Regions from separate parts of the Homo sapiens genome. Here region 2 is linked to region 1. The links are contacts of gene promoters, found by promoter capture Hi-C in human tissues and cell types (Jung and others, 2019). All regions are on one chromosome and are shown on one strand. Each heading gives the region's core, a stretch centred on a gene start or on the middle of the fragment in contact. The rest is flanking DNA. Distances are from core to core; before and after follow the strand shown.

Region 1 (5,670 bases), core at 834-3,333:
AAGAGGAAGGCCTCTTTGCAGTTGAGATAAGAGGAAGGCATCTATCTCCTGCTCGTCCCTGGGAATGGAATGTGTCAGTGTAAAACCCGATCCTACGTTCTATTTACTGAGATAGGAGAAAACCACCTTATGGCTGGAGGTGAGACATGCTGGTGACAATACTGTTGTTTACTGCACTGAGATGCTTGTATAAAGTCAAACATAAATCTGGCCTACATACACATCAAGGCACAGCACCTTTCCTTAAACTTATGACACAGAGTCCTTTGCTCACATGTTTTCCTGTTGACCCTTTCCCCACCATTACCCTATAGTCCTGCCACATCCCCCTCACCGAGATGGTAGAGATAGTGATCAATAAATACTGACGGAACTCAGAGACCAGTGCTGGCGCGGGTCCTCCCTATACTGAGCGGTGGTCCCCTGGGCCCACTGTTCTTTCTCTATACTTTGTCTCTGTGTCTTATTTCTTTTCTCAGTCTCTTGTCCCACCTGAGGAGAAATACCCACAGGTGTGGAGGGGCTGGCCCCCTTCAACATGCAGGGCTACACCCTGGGCTGGCATGCAAGGTGCCTTCCTCATATCTCTCTCCTGTTCCTCTCCACGAAAGTGTGGCTGCAGAGTGCAGCGGGCACCTAGGTTCTAGTTCCAGCTCTGCCCCAACTCAAAAATCACTTGCGGAACATCTGCTGAACACAATTTTCTGTGACTCTTTCTGTCTCCCACCCAGGCACACCCTCCTGAGTCCTGCGGTTCCCAACCTGTAAAGCCTTCCCACCTGTCAGGTCCCACAGATACAGCAAGCCCTCCCTCTCTCAGCACATAAGAAGGCTTTAACTGGGGTCAGTGTTTCACACACCCAGAGGAAAAGCCCCTCTTCAAGCCACATCTTCCAAACCCTCAGCCAGGCCCTTCCACGCCTCCAAACCCACATACTGAGGTGATCCAAAGGCAGCGCAGGGAGAAAAGCTTGTTGACAGACCACCCACGGAGGGCTGGAACTAAACCTGCTCATGGAAAGGGCTTGCCAGGGGTTGGACACCACAGCAGGAGCCAGAGAGACTTCCCTTCTAGCCTGGCTTTGCCAAGATCTCCCTGTGCACTTGGCAGGTTTCTTTCTGGCTCCCTCTTAGGATCCAAATGCACAAATCAAGAAGCTTGAACTCAGCCAGGCGCGGTGGCTCACGCCCAGCACTTTGGGAGGCCGAGGCAGGTGTATCAACTGAGGTCAGGCGTTTGAGATCAGCCTGGCCAACATGGTGAAACCCAGTCTCTACTAAAAATGCAAAAATTAGCCAGGCGTAGTGGCGGGCCCCTGTAATCCCAGCTACTGGGGATGCTGAGGCAGCAAGAATCGCTTGCACCCGGGAGGCGGAGGTTGCAGTGAGCCGAGATCGCACCACTGCACTCTTGCCTGGGAGTCAGAGCGAGACTCCGTCTCAAAACAAAACAAAAAAAAACAAAAAACAAAACTCTAAGCTCTCCAGATCCCCTTGGCCATTACACTCTGCGATTCCAAAGTCCTCAACCCCTGGCATCCCACTGGTTGTCACGCTTGCGTTTTCGCATTCCAATAGGCAGCAATCGTGAGATTCTTTGGCACAAAGCAAAACTCCTCTTTGACCCAGTGAGGGAAAGGCCTTCCACCACCTGCCTTGACACTACCGTTTCCTTTCTTCCCCCGTGCTCTACCTGGCTCAGAAAGTGCGGAATATCTTAGGGCAAGGAGAGATTCTGGAGAGTTACACATCTGCTCTGCCCGCCCCATCCCCTGTCCCTCGGCGGGTCCGGCGGCTGAAAGTGCCGCTGCGAGTACCCTCAGGCCGCGCCCATCCCACTACGCTCCGGCAGTCACCTGGAGCCGGAAGCGCTGCGCCGCCCTGTCCATGTTCTCCAGGCCCGCTCGCTGCCTCTGTCGCGCCCGGACCACCGCGCCCCGCGCCGTCCGGCGCCCGGACCAGCGCAGGGCCACGGCCGCCGCCACGAAGCAGCAGGCCAGGGCGACCCCGGAGGCGCCAGGCAGCGCGGCCCACAGCTCGTACTGCACCATGATCCCTTCAGCCTGCTGCTGCCTACCGCGACAGTTGAAGCCGCCGCACGCGCAGCCCGCCCGCTCCGCCGCAAAACCCGGACTGGATCAGCCGGGATCCCACGCCCGCCTGCGCGGGAGGGGCGGGGAAGCGCGCCAGAGCCTAGAGGCTATCAGAGGCGGCCCGCCTGGCATCGCCCCCAGCGACATCCCGCTCCCCGCCAAGCCGAGCAGGCGGGTGGGGAAGGGCGACTGTTTCTCGTGGGCGACCTCCCAAGCTTGAGTTTAGCACCGGTTGGGCACCACAGCCCCGGCCGTCCTCTGCCCCCTGCACCCCAGAGCCCCAAATGCTGAAGACTGCGCCCCAGCCGGAGCCCCATGCCAGACATGCCAGCTGTTAGATATGAGTTCTAAATTTATCTTAAAAGAATCAATATGTCAGTATCTTCAATTCTTTGCCTTCTACTTTTAAACTTAACTTCCTCATAAAGCAACATTTTTCGATTACCTGCTCCTCCCTCACTCATTCTTCACCGTGGTTCATTCCGATTTCCTGCTCTGCGGTAACCATTTTTCCCGCCAAACCACTCACCCCCTCACTGTCTTTAAATTAGCCAATCGGAATTAGTTTAGCCTATAGGTCTAACCCTAGCCAACAGGGGAAGGACACAGCATCAGGAATCACGTGGGTCAGGCATAAGAACCACCTTCCCCTCCCTTGTCCAGGTGTGCGCTCACCTTTGCTCCGTCTGTGAGGGCGCACCCTTCTATAGAAGTAAATTGCCTTGCTGAGAAGAAAAAAAAGAAAATTTTATATTCGAGTGCTATTTCTTTTGCGGCACTGGGGGGAAACTTTATTTATAACAATTTGGGGGCTTGCTCGTGATTACATTCCCCTTCAGGGGCAGTCTCTGGTTCTCTCTCCTGAGGAGGTATGCCCCACCCTCTTGTGATGGCCTCAGGGGTGAGAAATCAGGACTCACCCAGTGCAAGAAATAACCTGAGCTCTCAGCAATGTGAAAAGAAACCAGCAGGCAACCTAGGGTAAAGCATCCTCACACACTGCAGAGACAACTCTGTGCACAGACAAAGGAAGAAGCCGAGGGAGCCGGTAAGGTACTTCCTTGGTGGTCAAATTCTGGAGGGCTAAATGTGTGTGTGCGTGAATGATCACAAACAACCCTACCTGTGGTGTTGTTCGTGTGGATGATGACAAGTCCTACTGCTGGACGGAGTGAGTGGGTCCTCTCCACGTTTCCGTAGCTACCTCATATGGCTTAGGGAGGATCCTGCGGTGGGATTTCTACTGGAATGCCAATGCTGAGGGGGGCCTAATTCTCCCTTGGGGGAGCAGCCAGAGAGGACAACACGAGTGGGAAGTGTGCAAAGGACCTTCAGAGGGGGAAAGGGAGGAAACAGGTCAACCTTCCAGGGAAGCAAGGCAAGACACCTCCTAGTTTGAGGGATTGAGCCTTCCAGGGCAGCAAGGCAAAACACCCCCTGGTTTGAGGGGTTGAGCCTTCCAGGTCAGGCAAGGCAAGATACCCCCTGGTTTGAGGTGTTGAGCCTTCCACAAATTTCAGGGGATCAAAAACCTCACACAAACCTCCGGTAGTAAGAAAAATATTCAGAATTCCCCTTTCCTTTCTTCTCGGGGAAGAAAAAGTAGCTGCACTCCTGACGGTCCCTTCCCTAGGGGAAGGGGAAGGAGAGGGGAGAACAGCAGCATAAGCAGCTGGCAGAGGCAGGGAAAGACCAGCAGAGAGGAAAGAGAAACTGGGAGAGGAAGTTGGAGAGAAAGAGAGAGGCAAAGAGAGAGAAAGAGAGGCAGAGAGAGAAAGAGACAGAAAGACAGAAGCCAGGCGTGGTGGCTCATGCCTGTAATCCCAGCACTTTGGGAGGCCAAGGCCGGTGGATCACGAGGTCAGGAGATCAAGACCATCCTGGCTAACACCGTGAAACCCCATCTCTACTAAAAATACAAAAAAATTAGCCAGGCGTGGTGGCGGGCGCCTGTAGTCCCAGCTACTCAGGAGGCTGAGGCAGGAGAATGGCGTGAACCTGGGAGGCGGAGCTTGCAGTGAGCCGAGATCGCGCCACTGCACTCCAGCCTGGGTGATAGAGCTAGACTCTGTCTCAAAAGAAAAAGAGAGAGAGAGAGGGAGTCAGAGACAGGGAAAGAGAGAGAGAGTCAAAGAGAGAGAGAGAGAAAGAGAGATAGAAGTAGTAAAGAGAAAACAGTGTACCCTATTCCTTTAAAAGCCAGGATAAAATTCAAAACCTGTAATTGATAATTGAAGGTCTTCTCCATGACCCTATAACACTCCAATACCACCTTGTTGTCAGTGTAAACAAGGATGTAGCCCAAAAGCACTGAGGCCACTGACAACCCGTAACCTCCCTAATCAAAACTCCTTAACCCAGTAACCGGCAGATGGCCCAAATGCATTCAATCTGTAGCAGCAACTGCTTTGCTAACAGAAGAAAGTAGAAAAACAACTTTTAGAGGAAACCTCATTGTGAGCACACCTCATCAGGTCAGAACTATCCTAAGTCAAAAAAAAAAAAAGGTAGCTTACTGACTCAAGAACCTTAAAGTATGAGGCTGTTCTGTTAGAAAAAAATGATTTAATATTAACCACTGAAAATTCCCTTAACCCAGCAGGTTTCCTAACATGGGATCTAAATCTTAATTAATTACCATACAAAGGTCCGACCAGACCTAGGAAGAACTCCCTTCAGGACAGGATGATAGATGGTTCCTCCTGGGTAATTGAGGGAAAAAGACACAATGGGTATTCAGTAAGTGATAAGGAAACTCTTGTAGAAGCAGAGTTAGGAAAATTGCCTAATAATTGGCCTGTTCAAATGTGAGAGCTGTTTGCACTCAGCCAAGCCTTAAAGCACTTACAGAATCAGGAAGGACCCATCTATACCAATTCTAAGTTAATATGGACTGAATGAGGTCTTATTAATAGCAAAGAATAGTTGAAATTCCAAACTTAAAATGTTTTCAACAAAAGTTAAAAAAAAAAAGTGAAAAAATGGCTACCCTCTTTGGGTCCCCTCCCTTTGTATGGGAGCTCTGTTTTCACTCTATTAAATCTTGCAACTGCACTCTCTTCTGGTCCGTGTTTGCTATGGCTGGAGCTGAGCTTTCGCTCGACATCCACTGCTGTTTGCTGCCATCGCAGACCCGCCGCCGACTTCCATCCCTCTGGATCCGGCAGGGTGTCTACTGTGCTCCTGATCCAGCGAGGCGCCCATTGCCGCTCCCAATCAGGCTAAAGGTTTGCCATTGTTCCTGCACGGCTAAGTGCCCAGGTTCATCCTAATCAAGCTGAACACTAGTCACTGGGTTCCACAGTTCTCTTCCATGACCCACGGCTTCTAATAGAGCTATAAAACTCACCGCATGGCCCAAGATTCCATTCCTTGGAATTCGTGAGGCCAAGAACCCCAGGTCAGAGAACACCAGGCTTGCCACCATCTTGGAAGCGGCCCGCCACCATCTTGGGAGCTCTGGGAGCAAGGACCCCCCAGTAACATTTGGCGACCACGAAGGGACCTCCAAAGCAATGGGAAACGTTCCCCACAAGGCAAAAACGCCCCTAAGATGTATTCTGGAGATTTGGGACCA
Region 2 (5,670 bases), core at 936-3,435, 310 kb before region 1:
ACAGTGTCTTTTTCACAATATATTTAATGCCATATTTTTTATATTTTTGTGCTGTTTTTGGTGATTTCCATGTTCAAAAATGTCCCTCAGCCATAGTGCTAATGTGTTGTCTATTGTTCCAAAGTGCAGGGAGACTGTGATGTTCCCTATGGAAAAAATACATGTGTTAGATAGGCTTCTTTCAGGCATGAGTTATGGTTCTGCTGGCTGTGGGTTCAATGCTAATGAGTCAACAATATGCATTAAATAAGATGTCTTTAAACAGAAATACATATACAACAAGGTTATGTATTGTATTGATCAGTTTAAAAAAATTGAGCAGGCCGGGCACAGTGGCTTATGCCTATAATCCCAGCACTTTGGGAGGCCGAGGTGGGTGGATCACGAGGTCAGGAGTTCGAGACCAGCCTGGCCAACATGGTGAAACCTTGTCTCTACTAAAAATACAAAAATTAGCCAGGCGTGGTGGCGAGCACCTGTAATCCCAGCTACCTGGGAGGCTAAAGCAGGAGAATCACTTGAACCCGGGAGGCAGAGGTTGCAGTGAGCTGAGATCGTGCCATTGCACTCCAGCCTGGGCGACAAGAGCAAGACTCTGTCTCAAAAAAAAAAAAAGTACGAGCAGAGGACTCACAGGAACCTAACCTGTGTTTCCCCAAGGAACAGTTGTTCAATATTCACTAATTGAATGTTTTGTTGCAAGTTTTCTAGAACATAACTACCACTAATAATGAGAATTGACTATATGTGCAAAAGTATAGATGAATGAAAACATGGTGTGTTCAGGGAATTTTAGTCACTCATTATAGCTACAGTATGGTTTGGTAAAAAAGGCCAGAGATAAGTAAGTCAGCAAGAGCCGTATCAAGAAGGACCTTGAGTGCCCTTCTCCTATAGTACTCTGTGTAGCTCTCTTTTAGCACTCAGTCCAAATACCTTATGTGATGCTTATTTGCATATACTTCTAATTGCACTAGAAAGTTGTACACTGTACTCTAAGCCTTAAGCATGATGATAAAGAAAACGATGGCAATGATGATGATAACGATGATGGTATTGACGATAACTGCCATTCATTAAATGCTTTCTTTGTGCCAGCCATTATTAGGTGCACTGCACATGTGATCTCCTTTCTTGGCTTCTACAGTCCTATGAAGTAGGAGGTGTTCTCTCCATTTTACAGTTAAGAACACTGAGGTTCAAAGAAGTTAAGTAGCTTGTCCACAGTCACTCAGCTGTGTAGCAATACTAAAAGTAAAATATTCAAGTCCTGGAAGCCTCTCTTCTTTCCAGCTTCCCATGCTGCGTTACATCTTGGTAGCCCCTGTAGGATTCAGTAGGTGCTCAGTAGATAAAGCTGAAAGGATATGATGCTGAGTCCCTGCTAGGACTAATAATCACTCATCATTGATGATTGTCTGTTTTAATAACTTTTTCTTTACTATTTAAAGGACACTTAACTTCAACCCCAAAGCAAAAAAGCAGCATTTCCAACTTCATAGTATAAAATGATGTATTAAGCAAATGGTCTACTGTAGCTATTTTTAATTTTTCTAATGAAAAGTCATGTAATATGCATAAAAGTCATGACTCATCTTTTGGCTGGAATATGGATTTTTCTTAATGGGTTCTATTTAATTCAACTTTTTAGACTCTGAATTCCAAAGTGTGACTTTTCTAATGCCTGAATCTGATCTGACATTCTAGAATGCATCTGTTAGAGGCCAGAGCAATTCCAGAGAAAGTAATGGGAGGGTGCCTCATCTCCATTTTAGTTACATATATAAGCTTTGCTATAGCTTTCCACAGATGTTGGCATTATTTTACTGAAGAGAGAAATGCTAGAAGACGGAATCCAGCTTTGTAATTTATGGGTTAAATAGCCAAGTCCTAGGGAACAGTGGGTGATCCAGGTTTTATAAGTGAGTAAGAAGACCTAAGTGATGTTTGGTACCTGGAAAGTTAATGGTCAGCTCTCCAGAGCATGCTTTTGCAGTGAGGCAGCTGATACACTAGGCATAGAGTGTTTGCAGCACAGAGAAAAGTGCAGCAGCACCTCACTCGATCCTGCTGGCATTGGCTTTCAGCTGCTTCTTAACTTTGGGTGAAACGGCAGCTGCCAACCAGTCACACTGGCTTTTTGTGAGACCACTACCATTCCCGAGATACTTCTGATTAGCCATGCACTCTGCCATAGCCTCAGGAGGTTGGAACTTTCAGTACCTGGAAGAAGAGTTTTTACCCAAAGAACAGCTTCTTCCTTTAGGATCTGGCCAGTTGTCAGTGGAGGAAGGTGTTTGTCCCCTCAGGTGGCTGAAAGGTAACTACATAATTGATAAGAGTATTAGGAATAACTATAGTCTTGCCCTTCAAACTGATCTTGAACCAACTGTGTACATACTTTGGGGCACTAAGGAAAACATACCTGGGGCAGGAACCCTTCCTAGCATTTTATGATTGGGCATGTTACAGTGGTCTCAGAAAGCCCCGTGAGGGCATGGAAGAAAGGGTCAGCCAAGAAAACCCATCAAACCCTTTGCAAAGTTATGTGGCGTCTTTTTCCTGTGTGTGTATTTCTTTCTCATCTTTTGTCTTTTTAAAAATTTCTTAAGTAATTTGTGAGTGGATTCTTATATAAGGTTTAAACTATAAAACACATACAGAAATCCTATGAAAATTTTCCTTCAATTCCCATCTCTGTGTTCCCATCTCACATGCACACACACACACACACACACACACTCACTCACTCTCTCTCTCTCTCTCTCTCTCATGCCCCCATAGGTGTCCAGTCAGTAATGTGGGCTTCATCCTCCTAGTTCTCTATTTACAAAATCATAATAGTTTTTAGTATGAATTAGCCTATGGGTTAACATGCGTGTGTGTTTGTAAATAAATAAGGTCATTCAATATATGTTCTGCAGCTTGCTTTTCCACTGAATATATGCACATTCTTAGTGATATACATTTAAATTGTTTCTAGTATTTTGCTGTTACAAATAAGGAAAAATTATTTTAAAAAATATATCATGTACATGAGCTATTTTATAAGATTTCTAGACATGAAATTGCTAAAATAAAGAATATAAACATTTCAAATTTTGATGGATATTCCTAGATAAACTTCTTACAAGTCTTCTCTAATTTATACTCCCATAAGCAGAGCATGAAAATGCCTGTTTCTATATGTCCTTTTCAAACCTGGATATCATTCATATCTTTTTAAAGGCATGAGTGAAAACCTCCTTAATGTAATTGCTTCTCTTAGGAAGTTTATGGTTTGCTGAGAGTATCTCTGTGGACTGAGGTTTCTCACCCATCTTGTTTTTAAATGAACAGAGTTACAATGTTGATGATTAGTCTGGTTATTCTGGAGTCCTTATGTAGAATTGCATGTTTTAGTGCTTATTAATTTCACTATTAAAGAACTGTCACTTATTTGATATTTCATCTGTACCAGGTACTATGCTAAGAGCTTTGATTATATGTCTCATTTAATTCTCATAGCCTGTATTGATCATCTGTTCCTTGGTTACAAATTACCCCAAAACTTAGTGGCCTAAAACAACAGTCATTTAGTATCTTACGGTTTCTATATGTCAGGAATTTGGGAGCAGCTTAGCAGACTGGTTCTGGCCAAGATCTCTAAGGTTGCAATTAAGATGTCATCCGGGTCTTTATAACCTGGAGGTCTGACTGGGGCTGGAGGTTCCTCACTCACATGGCTTTTGGTAGGAGGCCTCAGTTCCTCCCAACATGGACTTGTCATTCTGGGGCTACTCGAGTGTCCTCACAGCATGGCAGCTCCCTTCCCCAGAGTGACTAATCCAAGGAGAGCAAAGAAGAAGGCATAGGACCTTTTGTGACCTAATTTCTAAAGTTGCCAGTTGTCACTTCCACTTTATTCTCTTCTGTAGAAGCAAGTTACTTATGTCAGGCTACACTCTAGGGAAGGGGAAGTAGGTTTCACCTCTTGAAGGGAAGAAGACTATCAAAGAATTTGTAGACATATTTTGAAACCATCACGTATCCTTATAAGATAGTTGTTAAATAGTTGTTGTTGTTATTATTATTATACCCAGTTACTGATGAAAAGAATAAATTCACTACTTATCTAGCCTTATCTCCTACCCCCCGGCCTCTGTCTTCTACTCTGCTTAGACTAGCCTTCTCAATGTCCATCCCAGACACAGAGTGTTAATTCTCAGCCATTCATTCAACAAATGCCAGTCTTTGTATCACGGGTATTGTGGAAAGTAAAAGAGACATGGTCCTTGATCATGTGGAGCTTATAGTCTTGTGGAAGAGAGAAACCTCAATCAAATAACCACCTAAACAAATCATTGTCACTTTGAGAAGTGCTATGAAAAGAAAGTACTCCTGAGCCTGTTCATACTGTGTTCCCTATCCCCCGATGCCACCCTCACCCTTCTAACCTAGAAAGAATGCCTGCTTGGTTTTTATGTATAAAATTCTAACTTCTCTGTCAGAGTCCAATTTGAGTCCTCCTTCAGCGAAGCCTGTTTCTTTCAGCTTGCATTGATATCCTTTTCTCAGAACTTTATTCAGTATCACGTTTAATGCTTAATTGTTTCTTTAATGTACTCTTGCCTTGTCTCTCAGTTATATTGAAAGCTCCTTGAGGTGAGAGACCTAAGAGTTTCCCTTAATTCTTCTATCTTCCCCACTGTTAACACCCAGTCCCAGCAAATCGTATCATCTCTACTTCTGCTACTACCTCTACTACCACTCAAGTCTAAACCACCATTATCTCTTGCCGAGACTACACAGATCTCCTTCTTACTGGTCTCTCCATTTCTACTGACAGCCATAGTAGTCTTCCTCCAAGGTGTCTCCATTCATGTAATTATCCTGCTTACACACCCCTGCCTATCACACCTCAAGTAAAACCCATGTGCTTGTTCTGGTTTACAGAGTCCTGTCTGTTCTGGCACTTTACTGCACAACTGGCCTCACCACCTACTTTGTCTCTCTGTCTCTCTCACATACACACACACATTATGAGATCCTGCCACCTAAACTTCTGTTCTCTGAATATGCCAAGCTCTTTCCTGTACTGGGACTTTTGGTCTAGCAGTTCCCTCTTCCCTGAAATAGGCTTCATCCAATCTTCATATGATTAATTCTTTCTTACTATTCAGATCTCAGTTTAAATTTTATCTCCTTACAGAGGCCTCCTCAGACCGATCAGTCTAAAAGTTGCTACCCAGTCACTCCTGTCAAGTTACTTTATTTTAATTTTTTTCTAGTGCTTCCCACTATCTGATATTTTTCTATATAAAAGTGTCTGTCTGCTTGCACTAAAATGTAAACACCACAGGATCCCTGACATCTGTGTTGTTCACCAGTGGTGAATAATAGGGTCCAGTAGTATTTGTTTTATTAGTGAGTGGCTGAAAATTCATCTTAAGCCTCTGAACTTTTGCCTTCTAAAAGAAAAGAGGGAAAAGAGAACTTGAGTTCCCGAGTTCCCAGGCTCCTTACCAGACTCCCTGTCTCAGACCAAGCTACTACTACTTACTCAGGGAGCTTTGTTTAAATTAAATTCTTTGCATAGCCGGACATGGTGGCTCATGCCTGTAATCCCAGCACTTTGGGAGACCAAGGCAGGTGGATCACTTAAGGCCAGGAGTTCAAGACCAGCCTGGC

What was found. The method cuts DNA at HindIII sites, captures the fragments that hold promoters and counts their contacts. A contact is called where the count stands out against the background at its distance.
Region 2: a fragment that was not itself captured here is called in contact with the fragment with the promoter of FAAH in region 1 in 1 of the 25 tissues and cell types used here (aorta).

Annotation. Positions count from the first base shown.
Region 1 is chr1:46,390,730-46,396,399 of GRCh38, reverse strand. FAAH (fatty acid amide hydrolase) reads right to left here and starts at 2,083. Exons shown (of 15, transcript NM_001441.3): 1 at 1,857-2,083. The coding sequence starts at 2,051. RefSeq lists an enhancer at 1,682-2,195. The HindIII fragment of the contact is 5,547 bases long and covers 1-5,525 here.
Region 2 is chr1:46,698,059-46,703,728 of GRCh38, reverse strand. All of the region lies in intron 3 of EFCAB14 (EF-hand calcium binding domain 14), which reads left to right. Among named protein-coding and RNA genes, the nearest start is that of EFCAB14, 18 kb to the left of the region's middle. The HindIII fragment of the contact is 3,701 bases long and covers 335-4,035 here.